Linked DNA regions of Homo sapiens: region 2 is linked to region 1. Evidence: promoter capture Hi-C in 16 types of primary human blood cells and fetal thymus (Javierre and others, 2016). All regions are on one chromosome and are shown on one strand. The core of a region is centred on a gene start or on the middle of the fragment in contact, and the rest is flanking DNA. Distances in the headings are between cores, read along the strand shown.

Evidence for each region. The method cuts DNA at HindIII sites, captures the fragments that hold promoters and counts their contacts. A CHiCAGO score of 5 or more calls a contact.
Region 2: a fragment that was not itself captured here is called in contact with the fragment with the promoter of BHMT in region 1 in 1 of 17 cell types (naive B cells); the score reaches 5.2 in naive B cells.

What each region holds. Positions count from the first base shown.
Region 1 is chr5:79,106,506-79,113,572 of GRCh38, forward strand. BHMT (betaine--homocysteine S-methyltransferase) reads left to right here and starts at 5,304. Exons shown (of 8, transcript NM_001713.3): 1 at 5,304-5,413. The coding sequence starts at 5,381. RefSeq lists an enhancer at 5,630-6,474. The HindIII fragment of the contact is 17,379 bases long and covers 1-7,067 here.
Region 2 is chr5:78,459,102-78,466,148 of GRCh38, forward strand. SCAMP1 (secretory carrier membrane protein 1) reads left to right here. Exons shown (of 9, transcript NM_004866.6): 8 at 144-261. Among named protein-coding and RNA genes, the nearest start is that of SCAMP1, 100 kb to the left of the region's middle. The HindIII fragment of the contact is 3,969 bases long and covers 797-4,765 here.

The DNA of each region.
Region 1 (7,067 bases), core at 4,054-6,553:
ACCAAGTCGCAGGGCTGTCCCTGGGGTATGACTACCCAGATCAGGAGCTACATACTGGAGCTGATGGACCACTTAAACATCATGTACCAGACCCCTGGGAAAAAGGGGACCTATAGCATCCACTCCAACCGTTTCCTATTAAGACAGAGAAAGATGAACTAAGACATCTATTAGCAGCTCACAAAGATGATAGAAATTAAGATTTGAATGGCTATTCCCAGAACTTAGTGCTTCTGTTTTCCAATGCCTATCAAAAACAACAACATTTCAGAATGACTAGGCAACCCAAGGGTTACACACAGTGCAGAAGTCATGGGGTATTTGGTGGGGTAGCCTGGTCAGGACAGACTATTTTCTGTCTGTCACTAACTGTATGTCCAATGAATTGGAACTTCTGACCAGGAGAAGGGACCTCTGGGTCGGGCCAGGTGAGTGGGAATGTCCATGAGTCAGATGAGGTTATAAAAAGTTTGGGGAGCTTTTGAGAAAAACAATCTACTGAAAAGAAAGCATAGAGTAACTCTAAAGAGTGTGATCTCTGGCTTCATTCGGCCCAGCTGACGTCCTCTCTCAGCTCTGTGCTTACTATTGACATGATCTTGGGAAAGTTCTCATCTGGCCTCCATGGGCCTCAGCACTGTCATCAGTAAAATCGGGCTGGTCAAATCCCTACCTCACAGGGCTATTGTAAGGATTACTAATGCTTACAAAGCACTTAGCACAGCTAACTCCACATAGGAAGTGCTCATAAAGTTACAGTTATCTGCTTAAAAAAAAAAGCCACAAAAGGGCATGTGACAGGCTAATCATCCTGTTAGAAAGCATTTGAGGAAAAGCAGAAGAGAGGAAATTTCAGAGCTAGAAAGGGAACTCAGGATGCAATTACCATGCTGAGAGGATAGTTCTGGGAAACTGGAGGTGTCCAGAATGAACAAGAATATCAGCTGGAGGACTCCTCTGTGGAAAGCCAGGAGATGCTGGAGACGCTGGATATGCTGGCTAATCTGCAAGCCCTGAGGGAAGCATTTTCACCTGTGGTGGAAGGAAGCTCTGAGATAACAAGCAAAAACAAAAAGCTCAGCTGTTTCTCTAAGAACTAGGAAATTAAAGGCAAAAACTCAAGCATGGGCAGCAGTTGGAGGCACCAGCAGGAGCCACAGGCACGGTCAGAGCCGGGCTCAGGAAGGGCTCGCTGATGGCAAGGGAAAGGCAATGAAAGCACCCTGGGAAGAGGCTGTTTTGTGCTCTAAGTTTATGCCAAACCAAATGCAAAGACAAATCTGAAAAGTCACCCAGCTTCAACTTCTAATTTTCCATATGAAGAAACCAAGACCCTTTAAAGAGGAGTAATTGTGCAGTGGTTGGCTATGCATGAACGTGTTGGGACAAATGCATGTATGTGGCCACTGCAATAGACAGGGTGCTGGACAGGACAGGTAAACTGAGGAAAACCTGTGCACCTGCAGAAGAGAGTTTTAGAAGGAAAATCCACCTCATCAACCTTTTAGTATCGTCATCCTGGCAAGAAAAAATAACGGGGGTTAGTGGCAGTAGGAAAATGTAAGGCAAATGAAATCTTCGGTTTGGGGGCTACTTGGGGGAACATGTATTCCGTAACCCCAAATATACCTTCTATTTATAGCAGAAGTTGAAAGCCCAAATGCCTTTAAGGTAAGGTAAATATGTGAACCAGAAGAGTGCAGGGCAGCTGGGTGTGGTACAGACCAGCAAATGGGAAGGGTGGAAGCGCCACATAAAGGAATTCACATTCAATTTTTTAAAAACACTGGCCTTGCCAAAGGAAACGCAGAAGCTGGCTCCATTTCCACATCAGCAGTTTGCAAACACTGTTCTGTACAGTGTTAACATGTAAAACCACCATTAAACACAGTGTTAAAACATCATTAAACATCATACTAAAATATAAAACATCATTAAACACAGTGTTAAAGTATCTTCAATGGTTTAAGGCTAAATGAAACATATTTAGTCTAAAAAGGCCTGTGAAAAGTCAGTTTCATTTTAAAAGAGATCCCAGTTGAGTGGGAAATGAAAAGTCCTGACATTTTTCCATCTACATATTGGTAAAAGGAACATTTTAGCACTTATATGAGATGGTTTCTATCTCTTCCTTGAAAAAAAAAAAAAAGGAGATGATATCCTTTACTTCCAGCACCAAGCATAGGGTTTAAAACATTGTATTAATGGTACCTAAATGTTTATTGAGTGAATAAATAGGATTTCAAATAGAACAAAGCACTGGTCAGAGACAGAACAATAACCGAGTATCTTTTGAGGTTGTAAAATGAAGGGGGTGGATCGCCAGCTCTAAGTCTCCTCTTCTTCTTTGGGATTTATTTTTAACCCCCAACATCTTTGTACACAGCCATGGACTTCAGTCTTATGACCTCCCTCATCTGGTTGACTCCAGTAGAGATCAGAGAACATAGGCAGCCTCCCAAGGACAGTTTATTGCAGAACTCACTTCCTGCCAGGTGCAGTGGCTCACGCCTGTAATCCCAGCACTTTGGAAGGCCGAGGCGGATGGATCACCTGGGGTCAGGAGTTCAAGACCAGCCTCTCCAACATGGTGAAACCCCGTCTCTACCAAAAAATACAAGTTAGCCGGGTGTGGTGGCGCCAGCCTGTAATCCCAGCTACTCGGGATGCTGAGGCAGGAGAATCACTTGAACCCAGAAGGCAGAGGTTGCAGTGAGCTGAGATTGCACCACTGCACTCCAGCCTGGGCGACAGAGTGAGACTCTATCTCAAAAAAACAAACAAACAAGCAAAAAACCTCACTTCCTAAGTGGTATCCAAGCAGACTTAGTTCTCTGGGAATGGGGCAAAGAAACTTCAGGGAGCATGCTGATGATCCATCTAACTCCCTAACTTCGTGGTTCTTGAGAACAAAGAGGGGACACCCACCTCACAGAGTTGTGTGGGGTAAATAATGTTGTGTAAGTAAAAGGCTTAGTGCCTTTTACATACATGGTGGATATTATCATCTATTATGGAAATAAGTGAATAATTTTTTAAATGGACCTAATTGGGGGTGGGGGCATGGGATAGTTAGGACAACAAATTGAGAGGCCCAGAAAAAACAAAAATATTTTGACAGCACCTATAAATCATTCTGGAAAAGCTGGGAGTCGATAATTTTTTTAAAAAACGAAAATTCCCTACGTTCGAGTACAAATCCTTTTATATACATCTATACACTTAGGTATGCATAAAATTCCTCTGGAAGAACGGTTAACAGGCAATAGTGGTTACCTCCAGGGAGGGGACTTGATCTGCAACAGCAGCTGGGGAAAGGCTTCTAAATTTTTTTTGCCATGTTTGTTCTTGGAGAAATAAAGATTAAAAAAGTAAAATTTTTGCCATGTGTCTATATTACCTATTAAAAATTCATAATTCACTTCTAAATTTAATGCTACTAGTTTAAAATTTCTCCCAAGTTTTGCCACATTTTGAGGAAACTGAAATTGGGAACGTCGGCTTTCAGCCTTTATTGAGTGTTAGAGTGCTTATACCGCCTCCTAGTGCCAGATACCCACGACTGCGGCTGCTCCCTGCAGCCACCGCGGGGCTCACTCTAGACCTGTTCATCTCACCAGTGCTCACCAGGTGAATACCTTAACTAGTTAACGCATTAACTAACTAAACTGTTACCTATTCGGATACTCCAATGCCTTCAAGGTGTTTTTTTTTTTTAATCTAGGTACTGTGAAGAATGACTTTACCTCATGCCTCATTCTTGCTGACCCCAGATCACAGTTGGGGGTGGAGGAGCCAATGAAATAATAGATCACTTGAATAACAGTATATCCTTTCACCTTTTCATTTCTTTTTCCATTTTAAACTTGACATACTTAGAAGCAAAAGGACATTTTTACTTTCTCAGTTGTATTTCAAACACATGTCACTTTAGCCGTTAAATTTGTATTAATTCATCAGGTGTTGCAGTAACTTTCTTCTCTGCATGTGTTGAAATGGAGGTTGTTTGTCCACATACAGAATTTTTTTACATGCTTTTATTTGGGTAAAATTTTCTGAACTGTGTTTCAGATATTTCATTGTTCTGTAGGCTATTTACTGTCATGCTGTACATTTTTTTTTCTTTTGAGACAGAGTTTCACTCTTTTTGCCCAGGCTGGAGTGCAATGGCACAATCTCGGCTCACTGCAACCTCTGCCCCCAGGGTTCAAGCGATTCTCCTGCCTCAGCCTCCCGAGTAGCTGGGATTACAGGCGCCTGCCACCATGCCCGGCTAATTTTTGTATTTTTAGCAGAGACGGGGGTTTCACCATGTTGGCCAGGCTGGTCTCGAACTCCTGACTTCAGGTGATCCACCCGCCTCACCCTCCCAAAGTGCTAGGATTACTGGCATGAGCCACCGTGCAGGCCATGCTGTACATTTTTTAAAGTAATGTTTTTATTATTTTAAAATCAATGTATTCTCATTATAAAAATATTTTGGAAAATACAGTGAAACATGAAGAATAAAATAAAACAAGCCTTAATTCCGCCATCAATAGGTAACTACTGTTAACATCTCTATTCCCTCCAGTTCTTCTAATGTCTATGTTTTTATATCGTTTTCATGCTGAATTTTGAAGTCTTCAAAGTACATTTCTGCTTCCATTTATAAATGTTAAAAGTCTGTCCTTGTTAAATATTACAAACATATTCTTATTAGAAACTACTGTGTTATTAGAAACTGCAAGGCATGTTTGGGTATAGGGGTAGAAGGTCATTTTGAACATACCCGCCAATTCAGGGTTAGTATTGGACTCCTCTACTAAAGCCGCATTTGTGTCCCGTTATACTGGATGTATATCACACAGGAGATCACACTCCAGGCTGAAGATCTTCCAGGACTTCATCCCCTGATTCCATAATCTTGACGCCTTGGCCTTTGACAAATATCTGAGCATCGAATGGACTTCTCAGAGGCCTCTCTGGCAGCCTAAGTGGGCCATGGTGCATGATCCCAGGTGAGCGAGAGGACGGTCAGGGTCGGGGCAAAAGTGCAAGAGGCAAAAGGGACGCTAGGCAGGTTTGAAATCTGAGCGAGTGGCAACCTCGCTTTTTCTTATCTTACTTTTCGGTGGTTCCACCCATTTGGGTGAACAATCTGGATTACCTCCTTGGCAGGCCAGGTTCCCAACAGGAGGCGGGCCTGATGAAGGGCTGGTGGGCGTGTTCCCGCCCAAGGTCCGTGTTGGCCCGCGCGGTGGCTGGGAGGCCCTCCCCACGCCCAACTGCGGGTATAAAGAGGCAGGCTGCGGACTCGGAGCAGCTCGGGGCTGCGCAGCGGGAAGGCTCGCCTAGTCGGTCCGCATCCGTGTCGACCACCTGTCTGGACACCACGAAGATGCCACCCGTTGGGGGCAAAAAGGCCAAGAAGGTGAGTCTCCAGGGGACCCGAGGGCGCTCTCCTTCCCCTCCCACCTGCTCTGTATCCCAGCCTCTGGGAGCGCAGAGGGGCCCTCGGACCCTGCCTGGTACCCATCATCCTCCTACTCCCTCCCCTCCCTCAGCCTCAGACCAGAATGTGCTTCCAGAACTTCTCCAGCAGGACCCCAAGGCGCCTCTGAGCCTCCCCACTCCTGCCCCACGTTCAGAGCGCGCCCCCAGAGCGCCTCTGTCCCCTCCAGCCCCAGCCCAGCTTGGACCAGAGTGCGCCCCAGATCTATGTGATCCTTGCCTCTCAGACCCAAAGGCACCCTCTGAGCCCTCCCTGACGGCTGGGTGTCCCCAGAACTCCGAGCCTTCCAATATCTTCTGAATCTGGCACCCCAAGACCAGAAAACTCCCTAGAGATACTGCTCCTAGCCCCGCAGGCGCGATATCCCGTCCCCACGGAGCCCCTCCGCATCTGTGTCCGAGGCCGCCGCGAGCGCCCTCTGCACCCGGCGCGCCCAGAACAGGGAGGAGTGCACGGCGCTGGCTCCGACATTTCCCGCCTGGATCTGCACCGCGGGTGTCGGGGCCGCCTCCCCGCCGGGTTCTCGCTGCACCCAAGGCCCAGGCGCTGGTTGGGTGATTGCAGATTTTCACAGGCAATTTGATGTCCGTGATGACAGAAAAATGTCATCCGAAATGTCAGCCTCGAAAACATGGTTTAAGAAAAAATGGGCAGAGTGGCTGTAAGATACTGAGGAAGGGCTGTTGATGAAATTGTAAAACCCAATTCCAGCTCCAGATGAACAAGTCCATCTCTTGGCTATCCCAGTGGCTTGTTGGGAGGGGTATTTTCAGTCCAGACGGTAGGCCTTCCTCTAATTTGGGGAACGGATGGATAGATGGACTGACTGCCGTGGAATGAGACTGGACAGGTGGGAAGAGAGAGAGAAGGATGGAGGGAGGAGAGAATAAACTTGACCTTTTGGTCAAATGCCCAGTCCCAGGCCTGGCACGACAGAGGCCCCCGGAAAATGGTAGGGAGGCAGATGGGGCCAGGCCAACTGTATCCTCTGGGCTGTAAGGACAGTGAGAAAGGTCCAGCTCTCATCCCAGTGCCTGCCCTGCTGGAGAACCAGCTGAGGTGTGCCCAGTTTCTAAAGGGATGGCCTCCCAAATCAAAAAGACCTCTACACAAGGAAGAAGGTCAATTCGGTTACAGATTCTAAATGCAGCATCGTGGATGCATGTTGATGGCATGAGTGGGTGTTGAGATGGCAAAGGACTATGGACTATCACCAGTCAAAGGAGGGTGAGAATTTCGCCAGTCCCTAAATGTACTAAATGAATAGTCCACAGAGACTGGGAAGGATGATTCCTATAGATATAGATATTTTTTGTTTGTCCCCATTCTCATAGCCACGTAAGTCTAACTTATTCCCCAAACTCAAACTCAGAAAATCTAACATTTTAAAGAATTATCTTTGTAGAATTATCTAAGCAACAGATGAATGTAAGATGGAAAAAACAGTTTCCTAGTAACTTGTTTCCGTGCATATGTCAGTGTTAAAACAATATATGGACAATAACATGTCTACACATTTGAGTTTAAAATTAAAATAAATGTTACAAAGTTTGCACATGTTCATTATAAACAA
Region 2 (7,047 bases), core at 1,531-4,030, 650 kb before region 1:
GTTGTGAGAATTAAATGCACTAATACACATAAAGAACTTGAATATTGCCTGGCTGATAAGTGTTGAATATGTGTTAGATATTATGCTATTTTTAAAAAGTTTACATCAACTTTTGCCTAATTACACTTTTTATTACTTTTTAGTGGTTGGATTTCATCCCTTACTGGTCTCAACCAAAATATTCCTGTTGGAATCATGATGATAATCATAGCAGCACTTTTCACAGCATCAGCAGTCATCTCACTAGTTATGTTCAAAAAAGTAAGTGAAATTTTATGTCTAAATTTTTATAGTGAACGTGATGTAAAGTTCTCATTTTCCTATTTTGCTATAATTTGGTGTAACCTGAAGCCATTTTATCGTTATTGTATGAGTTTGCTCTCTGAGGATTACTTTTTACAATTAAAAGTTATGCATAAGTACATTTTAGAAAATTGCATCACATTTTAAACTTCAGTAAAAAGGGAATATTTTAAAATCATTTTAACTGAAGGCTTTCATGAGTTAAAGAGTCAGCCTCATTTTTAAAATTTGGATTTTTAAATATACTCTAAATTTCTTTTTTTTGATATGAAGGATATTAGCCTGTTAATAAATAGAAGTAAAATTATTATGTGATATGTACATTTTATTCATATATATCTCTTAGGTTTTTGTTTTGTTTTTTAATTTTTTATTATAAATTCAGAGGGAACATGTGCAGGTTTGTTACATGGTTATGTTGCATAATGCTGGGGTTTGGGCTTCTATTGAACCCATCACCCAAATAGTGAACATAGTACCCGATAGTTTTTCAAGCTTTGCTCTTCTCCCTCCCTCCCTTTTGGGTCCCCGGTGTCTGTTTCCATCTTTATGTCTGTGTGAACCCTTTGTTTAGCTCCCACTTCTAAGTGAGAACATGCAGTATTTGATTTTCTGTTAGTGTGTTAATTCACTTAGGATAATGGCGTGCAGCTGCATCTATGTTGCTACGAAGGACATAATTTCATTTTTTAGGTGGTGTAGTATTTCGTGATGTATATGTATCACATTTTCTTTATTCAGTCTACTATTGATGGACGCTTAGGTTGATTCTGTGACTTTGCTATTGTGACTAGTGCTGCAATAAGCATATGAGTGCAGGTGTCTTTTTGATAAAATGATTTCTTTTCCTTTGGTTAGATACCCAGTATAGGGTGATTGCTGGGTTGAATGGAAGGTCTATTTTTACTTCTTTGAGAAATCTCCATACTGTTTTCCACAGAAGTAGAACAAATTTATATTCCCGTCAACGGTATATAAGCATTCCATTTTCTCTGCATCCTTGCCAACATCTGTTGTTTTTTGAGTTTTTAATAATAGCCATTTTGACTGGTGTGAGATGGGAATTATTGTGGTTTTGATTTGCATTTCTCTGATTGGTGATGTTGAGTTTTCTTCCATTTGTTGGCTGCTTGTATGTCTTCATTCAAGAAGTGTCTGTTGATATCCTTTGCCTACTTTTTAATGGGGTTTTTTTTTTCTTGTTGATTTGTTTAAGTCCTTTATACATTCTGGATATTAGTCCTTTGTCAGATGCATAGTTTGCACATATTTTCTCCCATCCTGTAGATTGTCTCTTTACTCTGTTTATTCTCTCTTTCTTTCTTTTGGTTTCTTTTCTCCTTCCTTCCTTCCTTCCTTCCTTCCTTCCTTCCTTCCTTCCTTCCTTCCTTCCTTCCTTCCTCCCTTCCTTCCTTCCTTTCTTGTCTTTCCTCTATCTGTCTCTCTTTCTGTCTTCCTGTCTCTTTTGTGAAAGAGAGTCTCACTCTGTCACCCAGGCTGGAGTGCAGTGGCTCAATCTCAGCTCATTGCAATCTCCACCTCCCGTGTTCACACAATTTTCCTGTCTCAGCCTCTTGAGTAGCTAGGATTACAGGTGTGCACCAGCATGCCTGGCTAATTTTTATATGTTTAGTAGAGATGGAGTTTGACCATGTTGGCCAGCCTGGCCTTGAACTCCAGACCTCAAATGATCAGCCCTCACAAAGTACTGGGATTACAGGCATGAGCCACCACGCCCAGCCTGTTTAGTGTTTCTTTTGCTATGCAGAAGCTCTTTAAGTCCCATTTGTCAATTTTTGTTTGTGTTCCATTTGCTATTGAGGTCTTAGTAGTAAATTCTTTGTCTAGGCCAATGTCTAGAAGAGTATTTCCTAGATTTTCTTCTAGGATTTTTGTAGTTTGAGGTTTTACATTTAAGTCTTCAATCCATCTTGAGTTAATTTTTGTATGTGGTGAGAAGTAGGGGTCAATTTTATTCTTCTGCATGTGGCTAGCCAGTTTACCCAGCACCATTTATTGAATAGGGTGTCCTTTCCCCATTGTTCATTATTGTCAGCTTTGTTAAAGATCAGTTGGTTGTAGGTGTGTGGCATTATTTCTGGGTTCTCTGTTCGATTGGTCTGTTTTTGTACTGGTTACCATGCTGCTTGCTTACCATAGTCTTTTTTCTTTTTTGAGACAGAATCTTGCTCTGACGCCCAGGCTGGAGTGCAGTGGCACAATCTCGGCTCACTGCACCCTCAGCCTCCCCAGGTTCAAGTGATTCTCATGCCTCAGACAGCCAAGTAGTTGGGACTAACAAGCGTGAACCACCATGCCTGGCTGATTTTTGTATTTTTAGCAGAGACGGGATTTCACCATGTTGGCCAGGTTGGTCTCTAACTCCTGGCCTCAAGTGATCCGCCCGCCTCAGCCTCCCAAAGTGCTGGGATTACAGGTGTGAGCCACTGTGCACTATAGTTTGAAGTCAGGCAATATGATGCCTCTGGCTTTGTTCTTTTTGCTTAGGATTGCTTTAGCTATTCAGACTCTTTTTGGTTCCATATGAATTTTAGAATTGTATTTTCTACTTCTGTGAAAAATGATGTTGGTAATTTGATAGGATTGTATTGAATCTATATATTGCTTTGGACAGTATGGTCATTGTAACAATATTGATTCTTCTAATCCATGAATGTGGATGTTTTTCCATTTCTTTGTGTCATGTGTGATTTCTTTCATCAGTGATTTGCAATTCTTCTTATGGAGTTCTTTCACCTTCTTAGTTAAATGTATTCTGGATGTGTGTAGGAGTGTGTGTGTGTGTGTGTGTGTGTGTGTGTGTCTATTGTAAATGGGATTGGGTTCTTTATTTGGTTCTCAGCTTGAACGTTGTTGGTGTTTAGAAATGCTACTGATTTTTGTATGTTGATTTTGTATCTTGAAACTTTTTGTTGGTTTTTTGAGACAGAATCTCACTCTGTTGCCCAGGCTGGAGTGCAGTGGTGTGATCTTGGCTCACGGCAGCCTCTACCTCCTGGGTTCAAGCAATTCTCATGTTTTAGCCTCCTGAGTAGTCGGGATTACAGATGTGGCACCTGGCTAATTTTTTTTGTATTTTTAGTAGAGATGATTTCGCCATGTTGGCCAGTCTGGTCTGTAACTCCTGACCTCAAGTGATCTACTTGCCTTGGCCTCCCAAAGTTCGGGATTACAGGTGTGAGCCACCACACCCAGTCTGTATCTTGAAACTTTACTCAAGTTAGTTATCAGGTTTAGGAGTCATTTAGGATTTGTAACTGCCCAGTTGTTTTAGCTACACTTCTTCCTGTAGAATTCCCATGTCTGTTTTCACAGCTTTAAAAAAAAAATCATTACATAGAGGAAGGTAAATTAGTGTTTTTATTTGTTTATTTAAAGTTTTATTTTGTCTTGGATATATGTAATTTTGATATATTTTATATGTATTCAAACATGATATTGAGACCTTGGGAATAACACCTATGTTTTAAATGAAAAAGACTTTTTGATAGGTCTCACTTTAAAGAAAATAAGTCCTTATAATTTTTTTTACCATTTCATTACTTGAGACTATGTATGAGGAATGCATAGAAATAATTTTACCTTATATTTAAAACCACTTTTACTCTTTCAGTACTTTACTCAGACATTTGTCTTTTATCCTTCTCAAAACCCTACGAAGGTTAGACTGTGTCCGTTCTTCCATATTTTCTCTATTTGAAATTTTTAACTTCTCTTCTGCACCAAACACACATACCATTGACACTCAGCTCTCTAATGTTACTAAATCCCTTTTCCAGTTTTCCTCCTCCTTAACCTCTGTAGCTTTCTACACCACAGATGGCTCCTCTGCTAAGACTTTGCAATGATGTTCTAATTCTCTTGACTCTCTGGCTATTCTTTCTCCTCCATTTCTTCATCCAGTTCATAAATTAAGGTCTTAAATGTAATCGGCTCTTTGTGCTATGCAGTCATTTTCTTTGGGAATTTCATCTTCCCTTATTATTTCAGTTTCTTCTCTACCTAGATGACCTAGAATCTTGGAATTGGAAAAGATAATGCATTGCATAAACCTTTAGTTGCATCTTCAATTGGTCATTTTCATCTCCAGTTGTTGATTGATGTCATCTTCTCACAGTAATGCCTCATAAACTCTTCAGTTTCTTAGTGATAGATGTTCCTTTTGAACGTTCTGAGTAATATTCAAGAAGCATTTATTAAGACCACATATTGTATAGATTCCATTATTGTGAAATGTATAAAATGGGCAAATATATAGAGACAGAAAATGTATTACAGCTTGCCTGTGGCTTATGGGTGGGGTGGGGAGTGAGGGTAATGAAAGTATTCTAAAATTAGGTTGTGTAGATATTATAGTCACAACTCTATGAATATACTAAAAATCATTGAATTGTACACTTTAAAGGGTAAAATGCATAGTATACAGATTTTATCTTAATGAAGCTTTTTTTTTTGAAGAAACACTTATTGAATACCTACTAATGAGATGGCACTAAGCACTTTATGTAATTCCATTGAACATTTTTGTCAGTGCTGTGATTGCTTCTGTCAGTGCTTCCATTACTTCTTTTTTGAGACAGAATCTGTCTGTCGCCAGGCTGGAGTGCAGTGGCGCGATCTTGGCTCACTGCAGCCTCCGCCTCCCGGGTTCAAGCGATTCTCCTGACTCAGCCTCCCAAGTAGCTGGGACTACAGGCATGCGCCACCACACTCAGCTATTTTTTTTTTTCTTTTTTTGAGATAGAGTCTTGCTCTGTCACCAGGCTGGAGTGTGATGGCGTGATCTCTGCTCACTGCAGCCTCCAACTCCCTGGTTCAAGCAGTTCTCCTGCCTCAGCCTCCTGAGTAGCTGGGATTACAGGCATGTGCCACCATGCCTGGCTAATTTTTGTATTTTTAGTAGAGACAGGGTTTCACCATGTTGGCCAGGATGCTCTTGATCTCCTGACCTCGTGTTCTGCCTACTGGGATTACAGGCATGAGCCACCACGCACAGCCACTTCCATTACTTTTTAATTCACTTTCTTAGATACCTTTTTAGTATCTTTTCCATTTCCAACCTCAGCTAATCCAGAAATTCTTTTTACAGGTTACTTATATTCCCTCATCCTTCTCGCAGTCCATTTAATATATAATTCCTATATTAACCTTAAAAAAACCCCAACAAATTGGCACTCTGCAGATTTTTGACGTGGATCTGGGATTGGGAACGGCATTTTGGTGGCAGTGCGAAGAAGGGCTACATTCAGAAACACCAGCATTGCTAAGGTTGTAAAAACACACTACATGCCATAAAGCCATCAAATGGGCCTTAATAACCTAATGATGAAATCACTTTTATTTTGCTCAGCCATACTCTGGGCCCTATGCAGAACACTTCACCAGTATTATGCCATTTTGTCCTCTCGGAGAATCACAGATTGGGATTATAGTGGTGGTGGGAAGAAGGGCTAATGGTGACGTCTCACAGCTCCATGATTCACACTTTCTATTCTTGTCAGACTGTACTGCTCGGTTTCTTCAAATACATCATGTACATTCCTTTGTTCCAGATTTTGTTTATATGATGTTTTTTAATCCGTGCATTAATTCGTCTTCTCTGCTATTTGAAGACCTACTAGTATTCTTTCAAGACCCAGCTCCGATCTTGCTGTGTCTCCCAGAATGTTTTTTGTTGCCTTGTATCTTAGGGACCATGTCATTCTCTGTTTTCTTGGGGAAACTTAACTGTCTATATTGCTTACTGTGGCACCTGGGCATAAGCCAGTTTTTATGCCTTATGGTGCATGTATTCTGGGTACGCAGCTGTTAAGCACCCCCCGCGTGAACAAGTCTTTTAGCATTGGAATTAGATGAGAAGAGCAAGAGTTTTGCTTTGGAACCATACAACTCAGGTTGAAATTTTGACAGCTTCACTTACAGCTCTGTGACCTGAGACAGACTTCTGTAACCACTCAGGTTTGGTGTCCTCAACTGTACTCCAAGCTGCGTGAGAGTGGAGACCTGTTCTGTATGCTTTCAGGTTGTAATTCTCACATCTGGAACAGTGACATGCAGTGATTGGCATGTGATAGGCACTCAGATATTTGTTGAATAAAAGAAGGAATGGGAAGAGTAACCACTTTCATAGGGTTGGTGTGAGGATTAAATGAAACAGTGAATGTAAACTGCATAGAATAGGGCCTTCTCAGTTAATAGTTTTCCTTTCTGATCTTGACCTTTTTATCATTTTATATTCAGGGTCTGGTTTAGTGTCTACTTTTGTTTAGTAGATGCCTTTATCAGTCAGCATGCTATCAGAAACAGAAAGAATGAAAAGGTTAATTGCGGGGAATTGGCTGGTGAGGTCAGTCTGATATCAAGAGGGCAGGCCGGAACTCTCAGGCAGAAGTTGAAACTCTGGTCCACAAGTGGGATTTCTTCTTCCTCAGAGGAACTCCAGTTGTGTTCTTAAGGCCTTTCAACAGATTGGATGGGGCATACCCAGATAATCTAGAACACTCTTCTTAAAGTCAACTGAAGGCAGATGCCGATTACATCTACAAGATACCTTCACAGCGGCACCTAGGTTAGTGTTTGATTGAATAATTGGAGACTGCGGCCTAGCCAAATTAACATGTAACACTGACCATCACAGCACCATTCTTTGGAGAATTCCTTTATTATTTCACATGTATTATTGAGGGTGTTTTATAGAAGTAGAAATGTAATACATTTTGAGTA